Linked DNA regions of Homo sapiens: region 2 is linked to region 1. Evidence: promoter capture Hi-C in human tissues and cell types (Jung and others, 2019). All regions are on one chromosome and are shown on one strand. The core of a region is centred on a gene start or on the middle of the fragment in contact, and the rest is flanking DNA. Distances in the headings are between cores, read along the strand shown. Region 1 holds the start of RAB31 (RAB31, member RAS oncogene family). Region 2 overlaps NAPG (NSF attachment protein gamma).

Region 1 (6,051 bases), core at 1,612-4,111:
GATCAGCCTGCACTCCAGGGCGTTGTGACACATTTATATTGCTTATCCTATTTAACATTTTGAGTCATATTATTTTCACAGAACCTTATTTACTATAAACGTCTCTATAAATCTACATAGTATACACATTTCATTTAATATCTAAGTAACATATACTATTGTACACCATCAAATATACCCAGTAACGACACCCTAGCTTGCTTAATCATTCCTCAAGTGTTAAGAGGTTTGAGTTACAATTAACGCAACAATCCTCCCTTTACCTCCATGGATGTAATTTTTTTGTTGTTGTTTCTCTAACCCATTTATTTGTTTTTTTTGTCTGCATATGTGTTTATATTCAAACAGGCAGCTTTGTTTACTTTTCGTCTTTGTATGTTATTGTTCAAAAAAGGATTTCCTGAATCAAAAAACATGATCAGTTTTATGACCATTACTGGCTTTTTCTGTTGGAGACTTTATAGCAGCAGAGAAGTTGAGGTCTGAATTAGCACAATGACCATTTACGTTACAAAATTCTTATAAGAAAAACTTGCATGTTCTATTTCTTAATTTGATAAATTGTCAGTTATGTACCATTGAATTTTTACCCCTGCTGAAGTTACACCAGAACTACATATTTGCAGAAAATTCCAGAGAAGTCAGGATGGGCCCTTAGTACAGTAATCATAGAGTGTAACAATAGAGAACATGGCACTTTTTTAAAAAGTCGAGAGCTGCCTCTGACGTGTCACTCTTAAAATATGTCTCCCAGCAGTCATCTTCCTGCCTTCCAGGGCTAGAGCTTTGTAGGTTACCTTAGGGTGATCATGGGGACCTGGTTTTCATGAGGCCATGTTTAAGCTCAGGGGTGACCTGGCTGGGAAGAGGGTATAAACCCATGAACACGAGTCAGTTGACAGACTAGGATTGCCACTTTGTAAAGAAGAGCCCAAGACCTGATCAGAATGAGACACAAATGAGGTCATTTTTAACAGAACTAGGGGAGGGGAGAAGGACAAATAGACTGGGGCGATTCTCAGGGAGGGAAGGGCTGGATACGAGACTCTTTTGGGAGAGCCTAGAAACGACGCAAGCGTCCCAGACACCCGGGCTAGTGGAGAAGAGAGCAGAATGAGAGCAGTCATGAAAAAGAGTAAGGGAACACAAGAGAAATTCGGTTTGCCTATTTCTGTCTGGGCACAGTTCTGCCCTTAGCAATCTAAGGCAACTTCACAAAGCTCCACTCACTGCACGGGATGTAGAACACAGTGGAGGCTTCCACCCTGGTTTGACTGGCTTTTGGGAATCAAGCTGGAAAGCCAAAAGGACATGTTTCACTGTGGAGGTGCCCTCAGGGCTGGCGAAGGCCTTGGGGGAGGTGTCTTTGCAACTGTGTAGGGGTGGTTTTCTGATTAGCAAATCTGAGGGCAGGGAGATATTGTGATCAGGACTGTTTGATTCTGGGGAAGCCTCTTTTTACCCTGCCCACATAGAAGACTCTGCTTTGGATACAGAGTCAAGGACGGATACTGATACAATGGACCTGTAACTTGTCCATGGCTGCCTTTTGTACAGTTTAGTCCATTTGAGTAATCTCTACAAGCCTGCACCTCGAGGGCAAACTTCCTGCTCTTCTGGGGAATTTAATTGTGAATTGTCTGTTTCGGGGCCCATTTTGACTCCTGTATTCCAGGACTTATCTCTTTGGAGGCCTTGATTTGGAATTTCCCATTGGATGGGGCTACTTGGGTACTGGGTAGCTTCAACCTGGCTTCCGTAAGAACAAAGCCAGATGATCACGGTGGGTGGTCTGCTAGGAGAATGGAAATGCCATTGATTAAAATTGGAAGGTTAAGAGAGAGGCCTGAGAGTTTGGGATAGGAGATGAAGTTTCAAAAAATCAGTTTTTAAAAAAACATTTCCCATCTGAAATGCCAGTGAATTGTTCAGATAGATTACATTGAAAAGGCTGACATTTCTGTAGCAGCAACGAATGAAGTCATCCGAGTGGATGAGGTGCTCTAGGCCATACATGGAGAAGAGAACACAGTTACCCAAGCCTCCCCGACTGTGTGCGGCCACAGACTCTGCTCATTTCCCAGTTAGGAACGATGCAGGGGTCTGCTGGGATCTCCACGTTTCTACCTGTACCTCTGAGGACTGGGTTTCTGCCCACACGAGTTGCAGGATTTGCTCTACTGAGAAAAAGACTTTTGCTCCAGAAAGCAAGTTTCCCGTTTCAGACACGGACAGCGAGTTTTGCTTCTAGAATCATTTTCAGCTGCATACAGAAAAATGAACTTGGCTGAGCTGAAGAGCCACACATATGTTAAACGGAAGCTCGGGTATTAGGAACGTCGAGAAAGGCAGGCCGAAAAGTTAGCCCCCTTCTCCTCACCCCTGTCCTCACAGCGGCCCCTTCAGTGGCCTGACTTTTTCTGCGTGGGACCCAGAATGTCGCTTGAGGATGGGACCCCCGCAGACCTCCACGCGCTGCCACGCAAACGGCCTCGGCCGAGAGCATTCGCTTTCCAGATGAGAATGGCATCTTCAGGGACCCGCTGGTAGTGGGGCCAGGTCTCCACAGGGCCGGTCCAGTCCTTCCTACCCACCCGGGCCCTGCGGCCAGGCGGGGCCGGGAGGGGCGGATGCCGGAGGGCGCTGGGGGAGGCCGACCCGCGCGGGGCTGGTCCGAGGGCGGAGGCAATCCGCCGGCGACGCCGCAGGTCCCGGGTGGCTGACGCCGTCCGGGGGCGTTCCTGGGAGCTGGGGGCCGGCGAGGCTGGACCCGACGCGCCCGGGAGGAGCCGGCCGGCGGCCACGTGACCCACCGCGGCGGGGCCGGCGGCCCAGAAATAGCAGCGGCGGCGGTTCCGCCCGCGGGCGGCGCGAGCGAGGGGCAGAGGCGAGAGACGCCGGCGGGGCGCGGGCGCGGCGGCCCCGGAGGATGCTGCTGAGCCCCGGCACTGCCTGGCTGCGAGCACATGATGGCGATACGGGAGCTCAAAGTGTGCCTTCTCGGGGTGAGTCCTGGCCGCCACCCGCCGGCGGACCCCGGCCCGCGCTCTCGCGCCCCTTCGCTCCCCTATTCCCTGCGCGCTCAGTCCCCGTGATCCCCTCGCTCTCCGCACCCCTCTCGTAGCCCCCGTCCCCCTCGTCCGCGCGCCCCCTGGTTCCCCGGGTCCCCCTGGCTCCCCTAGTCCGTGCGCCCCTCGCTCTCCGCGCCCCTCGCTCTCCGCACCCCGCCTGTTCTCCGCCTCCCCGCCGTCCGTGCGCCCCTCTGGTCCGCCCCCGCTCTCACCCTGCCGGGGTCCGGGTCCGAGCCTGCCCCGGGCTTACTCCGCTCTTTCCTCCCGGCCCGCGAGTCCCCGGATCCGCGGCGACCTCGCGGGGACCCCCAGCGGGGACGGGGCAGTGGCGGCGAGTCTGGGGCCCCGAGGGCTTTCTCCTCCGCTTTTGATAGTTTCCTTCCGGCAGAAAGTTTAAGTTGCTCAGCCAAGTCGCTGAGTGCTCTTTTGCCTCCTGGGGGCAATTGATTTACTCACGTAAAACAGAAAAATAAAACCAAAAGCGAACCCAGCCAAGGGGGTGAAAGCCGAGGGCGCGGCCGGGGTGGAAGGTGAGGCAGTGACCTGTGCGGAGCGCGCCCTGCAAACTTCCCTGCTGCGGGTGAAAGAAGCTGCCTGGGAAAGTCCTCCCCACCATCACTCCCCTAAAGTGGGGTTTTCTCCGCCCGAAGAAGCCTTAAAGCAGCCAGAAACAAAAAAGCAGTCAATCCGTGCGGCCCGGGGACTGCAGACAGGGGACCCGGCGAGGACGCAGGGAGCCGCTGGCGAACCGCCCCTGGGAATTCAGATAAACGTAGGGTCGCTTCCTTTCGGGGGCCCACTCCGCATTCCAGAATTCCTTCTTCTAAAAGAAGAGCCGGTTCTAAGGGCGTTTTCAGCAGCCATTAGCATCTGGTGTACCCGCCCGTGTCATTGGCAAAGCTGGTCTCATGAAAACCATTTCCTAAAAAAGGGCAGCGAAAGGGTCGCATTCTTGTGCGAACTGATCTGTCAAGATGGGGGTACAAGAACTGTAGAAAGAGGAAATGATTTCGGTGAGGACTGAATTGTGCCAGCGTCTCTAGGCTTCCTCTAGGCTCTTGTGGAACCTCCGGCAGGCTCCCATCATCGGCTCCCATCACCGGCCTCTTCCAAAACCATCCCTTACGCTAACTCGATTGTCCGGTTGGCTTAGAATTCCAGAGGATCTGGGAAGGCCCTGCCCTCCCTGCTAGCCCCTGGCACAGATCCGCACAGATCCCCACCTCCCCCGACTTGCTCAGCCACAGCCAGGATCTAGTCTGGTCTTTCTCTGTTGACCTTTTTGTGTGGCAGGAGTGGGTTTTCCTGTTCCCCAGGCCCTCTAATATTTCCAGACATAAATTCCAGGAATCCCATGCTTCCCTCTTGAGGGGCCATTTCAGCCTCAGGAAAGGCCTTCAGAGACTTAGAAGGAATGTCGTGTTCCAAGGAATGAAGAGGCAGCCTTGATGTGCCGTGTTTGTCAGGACTGGCCTTGGGAAAGGTGAAATAGGACATATTTTTGCCTTTTTTTCTGCAACTCTTTTCTCTTGACTTTTACTGAGGTGGTCCAAGCCCTGCCGTGTCACAGGACCCCTTATTTTCAGTTTCGGTGTTTAGGGACAGGTCTCTATGTCCTCCTACCAGGACACTGATCAGGTGGCAAGAACCCTGTGTCAAGAGGCAGGAAACCTAGGCTCTCGTTCTTTCCCACCAAAGAGCTGTGTCGTTTTAGCAAAGCAACTCAGTGGCCTCATCTATGAAATGGGCATAATAACATGTTCCCCCTTTAGGCAGAGGACTACACCAGATGATCTCTTAAGATACATGTTACCATTTCCTGCTAATCTATGAGTTCAGGGTGCCAATTAGCAAACCTGGGAGAGGAGGAAGCTGGAGGAAATCTCTTTACTTCTTTTATCTCCAAGAAAGATACACACTCTTTGAGTGGCTTCCTGCAGACAGTGCCTTACCTTTGCCAGTTCTGTGTGTAGGAATTTGAACTTGGAGTTGGAAGAACCATGCCAAAGCAGAGAAAGAAGAGGTTTCTGGGCAGACGGAGGCTTTGAAACATCAATCGTGGCCGGTCGCGTTGGCTCACACCTGTCATCCCAGCACTTTGGGAGGCTGAGGCGGGGGGATCATTTGAGGTCAGGAGTTCAAGACCAGCCTGGCCAACATGGTCAAACCCCGTCTCTATTAAAAATACAAAAAAAAGTTAGCTGGGCGGTAGCGGCGCATGCTTGTAATCCCAGCTACTCGGGAGGCTGAGGCAGGAGAATCGCTTGAGCCTGGGAGGTGGAGGTTGCAGTGAGCCGAAATCACGCCACTGCACTCCAGTCCGGGCGACAGAGTGAGACTCTATCTCAAAGAAAAGAAAACAAAAGAAAAGAAACATCAGTCATATCACACCACATTTGTGGCTTCCTTTTTTTTTTTTTGAGGGTGGCTGTAAGTTTCAGTTTTATTGAAATCAGAGGACATTTTATTTGAAAGACCAAATGACCTTGTTGTCCACACTGAGTAAGATTTGCCACATCCCCTCGTTTGGCTGGCTCTTTCCTGGGTGAGATGTGTGCAGCAGGCTGTGTTTCTAGCTGCTCATCCAATTAGGCTGATTCTCTGGGTGGGATAACATTGAGGGAGATCAAAACCATTTGACTGTCTTCGGTTTACTCTCTTCTCTCTCTCTCTCTCTCCTCTTTTTTGTTTTGAGACAAGGTCACATTCTGTCATCCAGGCTGGAGTGCAGTGGTGCCATCATAGCTCACTGCACCCTCCAACTCCTGGGCTCAGTGGATCCTTCTGCATCAGCCTAGGTTTATTCTCTTGATTCGAGAGACCCTGTGGATCAGTCAGTGCTAAGTCCAAAAGTCCTTTAAAAAATATATGTATATTTTTGAGATAGGGTCTCACTCTGTCACCCAGGCTGGAGTGCAATGGTGCCATCCTGGCTCACTGCAGCCTCAGCCTCCCAAGCTCAGGTGATCCTCCCACCTCA
Region 2 (5,802 bases), core at 2,741-5,240, 830 kb after region 1:
TCTGTGAGGGAAATTTAACACAGATTTGTTTTCTGCCCCTCTGAGATCATGAATTACATTCAAAAATAAATGTTTTAGATGAAATTTTCCCCCTGAAGCATCCTTTGTTTATTTTCTTTAAGGGCTTATGGAAAACCTATTTAATCAGAATAAATTTTTTAAAAAGCAACATATGGAAAAGCAGGGAGGGGAATAGCTTCAGTATTTGGTTTTCACATTTTATTAAAGAGAATTTTAAGAGTGTTTTTAACAAATAGCACTTTTCTTAAAGCATTATGCTTTTTGCTTCTTTGTAAGCAACCCTTGATAAGTTTTCCAAAATTTGTAAGATCATATGTTATAAGCACTCCTGTTTTGTTTTGATGATTACACTTTTAAAACAGCTTTCAGTATGCTTTAGCTGTTTGAACAGTGAGACATCTTTTTCATAGATAGTAAACAGTATAAAAGATTGTTTTTTTAAAAAAATGCATTGTTAGACATTTAAAGATTGTGCCAAAAGGAAGGTTTATTATAAAAAACTGTTAAATGTGCTTATTGGCCCTCAGTTTCTACCTAATCGAATGACCTATACCCAAAATACCGTTTAAAGGTAAAACTGGTGAAGTAAGGTGCTGTCTTTTGTGACTGAAGAATCTGCCGGTTACTGGGGAGTATTGGGGAGTGTTGGTGTTAGAAAGACTTCTTGATTTTGAGTGGAAGAAACACTGATTTGTTGCCAGTAGTCAACAATTAAAAAAGAAAAAGTTTTAAAAATACTCGTAAGTTACCAATAATTGGAAAAGTTGTAAGGAAATTGCTTTAGAAAAAAGTAATATTTTATAGTTTTAGGATACTTCCTAAGTATTTGAAGTAAGTATGTTTATAATACTTCATATAAAATGCAGATTTCAGTAATGATTCATTTGAGGTTTTTAATGATGGAAATAGTCAATTTTTTTTTCTATTTCAGCTGTTGCTTTTAAAAATGCCAAACAGTTTGAGCAAGCAAAAGATGCCTGCCTGAGGGAAGCTGTTGCCCATGAAAATAATAGGGCGTATCTTTTTCAACTTTTAAAAAGAAATTAAACAATTAGATGATTTTGACAAGCTGTTTTCTCTTGCTGTAAATTTACTTTACTACCTGTGAAGTAAAATGTTTTTAAATTAGAAAATGATTAGAAAAATTCTGTATTTTTAAACTATGAAGGAGCGTTTATAATGAAGTTTGATTATAAGGTCCACACTGGTTCGCAGAGCTACAATACTTACTTTCTATTGTTTGTGATTTTACTTGATGATGGTTTTACTTGGGATGAAGTAAAGTAAATCTGTAGACATGTGCTGAAGAATGAAGAAGTAGCACAGGTATTGAAAACACGTGAACTACTGTATCAATTTTTTTAAATACAGTTTTCCTTAGGTATTTGAAATAAAAATTATAAGTAGTTTAAAACAGTACATTTTCTTGAGGTGTTTGCAAACTTATCAATAAAAAATGTTTCTCTTATTTGCAAACTGTAGTCATAATAACTTTGTACTTCAGTAAAACTTCAGATTATTGCGTAATAGAAATAGTTTAAAATCTGTGCAGTGTTTTGTTAGTGGTTTTGGGAATTATGTAGTTTTAAACTATATTGACAGGTATTGAATTACTTCTTTTTTACCTGTTTGTAGGATTTGTCTTTTGGAACCAACTGGGTCAGTGATTTAGTTAACTGTCTTTAAATAGTTGATCTATAGAAACTATTGATTTTTTTCTTTTTTCCTTAACTTTGACTTCGTTACTTCCATTCAGTCTTTTTCATGCTGCCAAGTAAGTATTCTTCATGTTTTCATGTATTTGCAAATTATGTTTTAAATGTTGCTGTTTTTCTGTAGGTTGGTAATTTTTTCCCAAATTATAAATTTTGTATTGATTTAAATAATAATCATTTCTCTTTGCTTCAGTTTTTACCTAAACCTTAAAAACCAAGACTTACTCCTAACTGTAAGATGTAAAGAGTTTAAATTAAATTTGCCATAATATTTTATTAGGAGCATTTTGTTCAGTAGCCTATGGGAAAAAAATAAGTTAGGATCTCTTTTTTCCTCTGTTTGATAGTTAATGGTGCCTGTGGAGATGAAGCAGGAAGCTTTCTCTTGCCTTGTGGAGAGTAGTTATTTGTTGGCCGAGGCAGGCGGATCACTTGAGGTCAGGAGTTCAAGACCAGCCTGGCCAACTTGGTGAAAAACCTCGTCTCTACTAAAAATACAAAAATTAACTGGATGTGGTGGCACGTGCCTGTAATCTCAGCTGTTGGGGAGGCTGAGGCAGGAGACTTGCTTGAACCTGGGAGATGGAGGTTGCAGTGAGCTGAGATCGTGCCTCTGCTCTCCAGCCTGGGCGACACAGCAAGGCTCCATCCCAAAAACAAACAAACAAACAAAAAAACTTAGGTTTAGGTTTGTCAGATGGAAATTAATTTAACCTTACTGAGCCTTACTTAATTTTGCATCTGCAAAATAAAATCTCTTTAACTCAAATGTCTGATGTTCTAAGCCATTATTCCCCACAAAAAAAGAATAAAAAATTATATTGTGTGGTAATATAAGCCTGAAGTGATATGTTGTGCATGAGCCCATTGTAATTGAAGTCACTTTCCTTACCAGTAGTTCCTCACCAGAAAGTTTCTTCTACCCCTTATTTCGTTAAGATCTCATCAGAGAAATTATATTCTCTTTGCAGAGCTTATGAGCAAGCTGGAATGATGTTGAAGGTCAGTAATGTTATGTCACAATTGTTGTGTAGGTAAAATGAATTAACTACAAGGTGTTAAACAAGAATTTTTGTTGAAGTTGAAAAGCTTCCTTACTGTAAGGCAAGAGGTGCTAAGTTAAGATTTTCTGTCCACGGTAACGTTAATTGGACCCATAGAATACATTCTGTACGTCTTAAGGAATGTTAAAAGTGAAATTTAAGAGAAAATGTATTGGAGTGAACTGGGAACACTAATGTTCTAAGCTCTATAACCAGGATAGATGTGTATTGCTATAAAAAGAGCTCTATGGGAAGTTTCTCTACTTTTGAGAAGGACATCTAAATGTAGTAAAATTTTATAAATATTAAAAAATTATCATACATGGGTTATAGAAGAGATTTTTACTTATGTGAATAACAGTTGGCAGCAGAAACAACCACAGATTTAAGCTTTTGCTACTTTAATTCATTCTGCATGGAATATTCCAACTAATGTACCTGTGCCACTGTTTGTACTTCTGCTCCTCAAAAGCAGGCCAGGAATTAATGTCCTGCTGTGGTGAGACAGAACATACTACTTTATGATGCTGACTTTCAAAGTATGCCAGCTGGCAGTTGAAATGAAGTATTTGTCTTTCTTTTTTAAAAATGTTTTTTTCTAAAATGGTAAAAGCTACTTTCAAGTATTTATTATAAAGCTTTGTTTTTAAGAACTTTTACCTTAGTAAAGCTTTTGTTTTTAATTTCTATGACTTTTATAATGTGAACTTACTCATTTTTTTAGTGAACACATGCTCATTGTAGACAATAAAAAATACCGAAAAGTTAAAGAATGTTAGTAATAGCTGTTAACATACTTAGTTTAAAAGATTTTATAGTCTTTGACCCAGGAATTTCAATTCTGTGAGTCTATCATCGAGAGAGAGAGATCAAAGATTTATGCATCAGGTTGTTTCTTGAAGAAATGCCAATTATCTAAATTTTGAATAATAGGAAAGTGAGGTTGGATGTAGTGGCTCATGCCTGTAATCCCAGCACTTTGGGAGGCCAACGTGGGTGGATTACCTGAGATCAGGAGTTCGAGACCAGCCTGGCCAACATGGTGAAACCCTGTCTCTTCTAAAAATACAAAAATTAGCTGGGCATGGTGGCGGGCGCCTGTAATCCCAGCTACTTGGGAGGCTGAGGCAGGAGAATTGCTTGAACCCAGGAGGCAGAGTTTGCAGTGAGCCGAGATCGTGCCATTGCACTCCAGCCTGGGCAACAGAGCGAGACTCTGTCTCAAAGTAATAATAATAATAGGAAAGTGTTTAAATAAATTATGATGCTTCCTTATTATAAACTATTATATATCCATTGAAATAAAGCTTTTCTGGCCAAACATGCAACTGAATTGGTATTTGGTGCCGCAAGTTAGGTTATTAACCACAGTTCCTTTGAAACCATAGAGTTTCTCTTACGGCCAAAGAAGCTGGGGATCTGCTCTGGTCTTCTTATGTCTCATTTTCCTCTGAGAATTAGGAAGCTCCCAGGTGGCTGTTACATTCTTAGTGTACTTCATGCCTGTTTAAGAAATGCTCAAACACTCTAATTCTCACAGCCTCAGTTTATATTACAACAGCTGTACTAAGACTTGAATCTTCATCAAAAGTTATTATTCAGGCATCATTTCCATTGCTCAAGTATCTATTTAATTTGAGGGTTGGAAAGGCACTACTTTGAATGAAAGAAAATTAACTTAGTGGATAGGGAAACAGATGAAGGAAAATGCTTTCTGGCATTGTCTTATATTTAAATTAAATGCCTTTGGACACTGTTGGGAGCACAGGACCCCTGAGCTACGTGGTCCACAATTCTGTGGGCTAAAATTTCTACCAATTTGTCATACAAACCTTCACACTGATTCACCAGAAAGGCTTGGGGAGTGCCATTTTGTAGACATATGCACAAGGGAAGCCACAGAAACTTGTTGGATCAACCTTTGGTTCTGTCACTTGATGACTGCTGTGATTTCATATCCTGTTTGCTCCACTGGCACACAGCCATTGAAAATAGGCATATTTATGGTGGAGGGTATAACTTTCAAGTAGGCAGCTCATCATTTTTTATGGAGAAGTATCAATATTGTGGTTGGACCTCTTACTCACAGCCTCACTTGATTTTACGCAAAAACAGGAAGATGTAGTTGCTAATTTTTAAACAACAAATAGGACTCGGATGCCATTTTTACTGCCTTCTAATGTATTTTTTGCTCTATCTACTGGGTAAAACTCATGACGAATAGTTCCTGTGGTTTTTTTATCCTCCCAAATGCTTTTATGTTGTAGATTCACATTATATATGTAATTAGTGGGTAGGTATATTTGGGGAGGAAATACAGTTGACCCTTGAACTACCCAAGGGTTGGGATGCCAACCCCTTGTGCAGTTGAAACTCTACATATAACTTTTTACTCCCCAAAAACTTTACTAATAGCCTGTTTTTGTTTTTTTTTTTTGAGACAGGATCTTGCTCTGTTGCCCAGGCTGGATTGCAGTGGCACAATCATGGCTTACTGCAGCCTCAACCTCCTGGGCTCAGGCGATCCTCCCACCTCAGCCTCCTGAGTAGCTGGGACTATAGGTGCATGTCACCATGCCCTGCTAATTTTTTAATTTTTTTGGTAGAGACTGGTTCTCGCTGTTTTTCCCAGGCTGGGCTCAAACTCCTGGGCTCAAGTGATACTTCTGCCTCAACCTCCCAAAGTGCTGGGATTATAGGCGTGAGCCACTACCCTACTACTGACTGGAAGTCTTATAAATAATATAAACAGTCAGTTAGTACATATGTTGTATGTTGTATGGAATATGTTTTATACTGTATTCTTAGAATAAAGCTAGAGAAAAGAAAATATTAAGAAAATCGTAAGGAAGAGAAAATATATTTAGTGTTCTTTAAGTGGAAGTAGAGCATCATAGGGCTCTTCATCCTCATCATAGTCTTCACGTTTGGGCTGAGGAGGAGGAAGAGGAGGAGGAGGAAGAAGAGGGGTTGGTTTTGCTGTCTCAGGTGGCAGAGGAGCAAGACAGTCTGCGTATAATTGG

The links. Contacts are between HindIII fragments. The study calls those that stand out against the background at their distance.
Region 2: a fragment that was not itself captured here is called in contact with the fragment with the promoter of RAB31 in region 1 in 1 of the 25 tissues and cell types used here (heart left ventricle).

The regions. Positions count from the first base shown.
Region 1 is chr18:9,705,440-9,711,490 of GRCh38, forward strand. RAB31 (RAB31, member RAS oncogene family) reads left to right here and starts at 2,862. Exons shown (of 7, transcript NM_006868.4): 1 at 2,862-3,005. The coding sequence starts at 2,967. LOC124904244 (a long non-coding RNA gene) reads right to left here and starts at 2,533. Exons shown (of 2, transcript XR_007066281.1): 1 at 1-2,533. It overlaps LOC105371981 (a long non-coding RNA gene), which reads left to right and starts at 3,233. Exons shown (of 2, transcript XR_935131.2): 1 at 3,233-4,554. RefSeq lists silencers at 2,557-3,126, 3,227-3,456. The HindIII fragment of the contact is 12,091 bases long and covers 1-6,051 here.
Region 2 is chr18:10,531,759-10,537,560 of GRCh38, forward strand. NAPG (NSF attachment protein gamma) reads left to right here. Exons shown (of 12, transcript NM_003826.3): 3 at 953-1,037; 4 at 1,778-1,795; 5 at 2,708-2,738. Among named protein-coding and RNA genes, the nearest start is that of NAPG, 8.6 kb to the left of the region's middle. The HindIII fragment of the contact is 3,043 bases long and covers 2,470-5,512 here.